Linked DNA regions of Homo sapiens: region 2 is linked to region 1. The links are contacts of gene promoters, found by promoter capture Hi-C in human tissues and cell types (Jung and others, 2019). All regions are on one chromosome and are shown on one strand. Each heading gives the region's core, a stretch centred on a gene start or on the middle of the fragment in contact. The rest is flanking DNA. Distances are from core to core; before and after follow the strand shown. Region 1 holds the start of HAO1 (hydroxyacid oxidase 1). Region 2 overlaps PLCB1 (phospholipase C beta 1).

Evidence for each region. The method cuts DNA at HindIII sites, captures the fragments that hold promoters and counts their contacts. A contact is called where the count stands out against the background at its distance.
Region 2: a fragment that was not itself captured here is called in contact with the fragment with the promoter of HAO1 in region 1 in 2 of the 25 tissues and cell types used here (bladder and hippocampus).

The regions. Positions count from the first base shown.
Region 1 is chr20:7,939,164-7,941,743 of GRCh38, reverse strand. HAO1 (hydroxyacid oxidase 1) reads left to right here and starts at 1,286. Exons shown (of 8, transcript NM_017545.3): 1 at 1,286-1,458. The coding sequence starts at 1,322. The HindIII fragment of the contact is 11,188 bases long and covers 1-2,580 here.
Region 2 is chr20:8,396,473-8,399,052 of GRCh38, reverse strand. All of the region lies in intron 3 of PLCB1 (phospholipase C beta 1), which reads right to left. Among named protein-coding and RNA genes, the nearest start is that of PLCB1-IT1, 150 kb to the right of the region's middle. The HindIII fragment of the contact is 4,629 bases long and covers 1-2,580 here.

The DNA.
Region 1 (2,580 bases), core at 37-2,536:
GAAATTATTGCATTATTTCACTTATAGGTGGGATTTTGTTTTAAAAAAGACTTCAAATGCACAGAGCTAGAGAATGAAACAGTGAATACCACTAGTGGGAAGCAGGGAAGAGGAAAAGGGGTGATATAGGTCAAAGGATACAAAATAGTAGACACGTAGGATACATAAATCTACAACAGGGTCCCTAACCTTTTCGGCACCAGGGACAAGTTTTGTGGAATACAATTTTTCCATGGGCAGTGGGGGTAGGTGGATGGTTTTGGAATGAAACTGTTCCACCTCAGATCATCAGGCATTAGATTCTCATAAGGAGTGGCGCAACCTAGATCCCTCGCATGTGCAGTTCACAATAGGAGGCGGAGCTCAGTCTGTAAAGCTTGCTCACCGGCTGCTCACCTCCTGCTGTGCAGCTTGGTTCCTAACAGGCCACGGACCAGTACCAGTCCATGCTGGGGAGTTTGGGACCCCTGGTCTAGAGAGCAAACGTGCAAAATGAGGACTAAAGTTAATAAAATTGTATCATATTAGGAATTTTTGTTAAATAAGTTGATTTTAGCTGTTCTTGTCATACACACAAAAAAGTAATTACGGGTGAGATGATACATATATTATATTGGCCTCCCTACTGTAACCATTTTTCTGTGTATATGTATCTCATAATATCATGTTGTAAACCTCAAATATACAGAATGAATAAAACAATTAGCTGTCAATTTGGCCTTAATGTTCCATGTTAAAGCCAAATGTCTATGTTTGTAATCAGCTAAATTTTATATTGTGCAGAAGCCCTGAATTTCACGGATGCCCCATATTTCATGGATGCCCCGTTCAGTTCATAAGCTCTTGTTTACATGATTTGTGCATGATCCAAATGTGGAAAGAAAATGAGTGGGCAGCCTATTCTGGGTATCAAGCAAAGAGCACAGGCACAGACCATGTGCAATAAGCAGCCTTAGGCAAAACTGAACCAAGAGTGGTTTCATACAGGTATTCCTCTAAGTCTTTAATTTTTTACTTATTCCTTTCCCCTTTTTAATGTGATAGACACCTAATCACCTTCTGCTGCCTTCCCAACCTCAACTTTGGTGTTCTTTGGCAGATAGTGACTTCGGTGTTCTTTGGCAGATAGCCTACAAATGAAATTTCAAAGGCTAAGCATATAATGTTTGCTCACTTGATGTAAGCAACAGAGAACTAAATCTGAACTTTGGCAAAAGTCTATTAATAATTGACAAATAACAGAACAGTGAGGATGTAGAAAGCAATACATTAAAAAAAAAAAAACAACGAACTCCATCTGGGATAGCAATAACCTGTGAAAATGCTCCCCCGGCTAATTTGTATCAATGATTATGAACAACATGCTAAATCAGTACTTCCAAAGTCTATATATGACTATTACAGGTCTGGGGCAAATGATGAAGAAACTTTGGCTGATAATATTGCAGCATTTTCCAGGTAAGAAAATTTATTTTTTAAAATCATGTTTTAAAATTACACAAAGACCGTACCAAAATAAGATCTCCTAGTTTTACGTTGGTGGTGTGTAATTATTTGTTCAGATTTGTGCTTAGTAGAGAGGGAAAAGTTCTTGGGGCTGTAAGAAATCTTGGGCCTTTAAATTGTTAAAAAATATTCCAAGCCTGTGAATCTTGAGGAACTGACTGCAAAAGCCAAACCTATGTTACTTCACTTGGAAATATGACAACAATTAATTTAACTACATGTAAAAATAGCGATAAATTCGGATGACTTTTCTTTTTCTTAGTATGACAGTAAATGCTTATGTTCATGGTGTAGGAAACAGCATTAAATGCCAGATAACCATCTTATCCGGATGAACCAGACTGGATTGTTGGCTCAAATGTTTTCTTCCTGCTGGCTTTTCGTGTTATCATTCATTTTGATTACTGTTGTCTAAACTTTCACTTTAGATTTCAATTTGTCTATGCAGCATTAATCTTTCAACTTTGCTGTTTCATCTCTCCTTCAAAGCACTTCATCTCTCTTCCCAAATTAGTTTTCCTTTGACTTTCATATTTCAAAGCACAAGATGGTGGGTGACATGGTTTATGTTTTCTGTTTGTAATAAAAACAAGAAATAAAATCATTTCAAAGGGTTTTTTTTTATAGCAGTTACAAAAATGGTTTATTTGCTGGAGCAAGAGAGGAGTGCCTTCACTACACTACACTCAGTCTCATCCATCTAACATTATGGCTGTTAGTAAAGGCAATCGGTATTGTGGGTACTCATTGATGGTGATAAAGACAAAAAGGCAGAAAATATGCAGGGGGAGAGAATTAGCCTTCCTCCCTGATTTCTTCTTTAGTCTACAACAAAATCACTCAAAATCAGTTTTCCATATTTAAATTAGGAGAAATAAAATTATCCTGGCCAAGGTGGTCTCTGGTAGGCAGCACTGATTCACCCACAAATCCATGTAGAAGACTGAAAATGGCAATGGGGTGAAGGATACGGCCTCTCCCCAACCCTTTCAAGCCTTGACTTTGTCTCAGGTTTTGCCTGGAACCCAAATGAGCTCAACAAATGCCAGGGAAGTCATGGGAAGGGAAGTTGAC
Region 2 (2,580 bases), core at 54-2,553, 460 kb before region 1:
GGCATGAATAAAGACTTACTAACTGTGACTCAAATGCCAAAAGCAATAAGATAAAATATTGATAAATTGACTAGATAAAAATAAAAACAAAAACTTACAAGGCAGAAACAACATCAACAACAGCAACAAAAAAACACCAAAAGCAAAATCAAAAGGGAAAAAATAAACCGGGAGAACATTTTTGCACCTCTAGGGTACGATAGAGAGCTAATTCTCCTGATATATAAAGAGCTCAAAAAAACCAAGGGGAGAAAAAAAGGACGAAATACCAGATGAAAAAAAAAAAGTGCAAATTATGCAAATGAGCATTGTGCTATTAAGTGAATGTTTGTCTCCCTTCAAAATTCATATATGGACGCTTAAACCCCAACGTGATAGGGCGTTGGAGGTAGGGACTTTGGGAAGTGATTAGGCCATGAGGGTGGAGCCCTCAAAATGGGATTAGTGTCTTTGGAAAAAGAGACTAGAGAGTCAACTCTCCCTCTCTCTGCTTTCCCCTATGTGAGGACTCAATGAGAATGCAGCCAACTGCAAACCAAGAAGTGGGCCCTCAGCAGACATGAGATTTGCTGGCACCTTGCCCTTGGACTACCCAGCCTCCAGAACTGTGGGTAATGTTTTTATTTCAGCCACCAGTCTATGGTAATTTGTTACAGAAGCCCAAAGTGACTAAGACATATTTATAATTTGTTATAGAAGTCCAAAGTGACTAAGACATATTTATGTATATTAAGACATATATTATGACATATTAAAACATATGACATATATTTATTAAGACATATATGTGTGTATAAATACATATTTATATATGTTTTAGAAATATATGTATGTATATACATGCATGGTCCTTAAACATGTGAAAGGAGGCTTAGTTTCATGCATAGGTAAGAAAAAGGTAAGTTAAAATGTATTGATCACATTTCCTGTCAAAGTGGCAAAAATAACAAGCTTAACAATACACTTTGTGGTGAGACTGTGTGAATAAAGATTCTGTAATACACTGCAAGGGGGGTAGAAAATGGTAAAATCTAAACAAAGAAAAAGTCTATGAAGATGTTAGCAAAACAAACAAATCTAGGAATTTATCCTGAAACTGAACTTTTGCATATGTAAAGGAAGGCATTTAAAAAAAAAATTGTAGCCTTATGCATAATAAAAAATAATGGAAACAACCTAAATGCTCATTCACAGAAGACTGAAAAAACTACAGAACCTCCATATAGTGGAGCAATATGCAGCTGTACAAAAGAATGAAAAAGATTCCCATGACCCATATGAAGAGGTATTGACGTTATATTAAGTAAAACAGGCAACCTATAAAAGCACATAGATAGAATGTTACATTTTGTGTAAGAAAGACTGAGGCAATTTACATATATTTTGAAAAAACTGGTGTCTCAATTCACTGGGGAAAGATGGACTTTTTATTAAATGAGATGAGAGGACTGGGTAGCTAGGTATGGGTTTGTGTGTGTGTTTCCTTATTTTTGTAAACAGAAACATGGTAAGGAAAACCAGAAGGTGGGTAGGAATAGGGTGGAAGGATATGGATGAGAGTGACTTCCCTGAGCATTCTTCTTTATATAATTTTGAATGCTGAGGCAAAGGAATATTTTATACTTTCCAAATGTAAAATTGATAAAAGCAATAGAGCATTTTAATCTCTAAAACTGAACGTAACTATAAATATATAAATCTAAGTGTATAGCAAATTAATAATATAACTCTATAGAAAATAATTTTAATAATCTTGGAGTATATATTCTTAGTGAAGCATACAATAAGGAATAAAGATAATTGCAAAGAAACGTTGGATTTTCTCTAGTGGACTTGTATTAGTAGCAACAGTATTTTTATTCTAGAATTATTTTGTGTAGACTATGACAAAGAAGTGAATACATTAATGCAGTAAGGAATCAAAATTGCCACTATACAAAAACAGATATACATGAAAGAAGAGGAAATGAGGAAGAAACCTGTGATAATGGATTGAATTAGATCTATTTGGATCTGTAATCTCACTGCTAGGATTACAATTTGAGGCATTACCAAAGAATAAAAACGCCAAATGAAGAAGAGATATCTGCTTCAGATTTACCTATAATAGCAAAAATAAAACAGAAATTGTCTACTCAAAAGTAAATAGTAAGTAGTTAATATGATTTCCAATCAATGCATTATTATTCAGCTATACAACTGATAAATATTAAAAATATTTAGAATCATGGCCATGCTTACAGTGTCATGTTAGATGAGAAAACTTTAATATGTTACGTATGCAAATATATAGATGAACACAGTTTGATCTTTGGGAAAATAAACAGACGATTGTGTATATCTGGAATTACTAAACCACGAAGGCAACTTATTTAGTTGAATTTTTTTCAAAGCAACTTTTTGTGTTAACAGTAGCATCAGATGTTGACAAAATTAAAGACTCACTTGCTGTTACTCTTCCCACCTTGTTTTTCAACTGGACTGAGCAACTTCCCATTTTTTTGAAATTGAACCTTTATTAAGGCAATAATTCAGGACTGGCCTCTAAAATAATTGGTTTTTCTCTTCTCAATCATACAA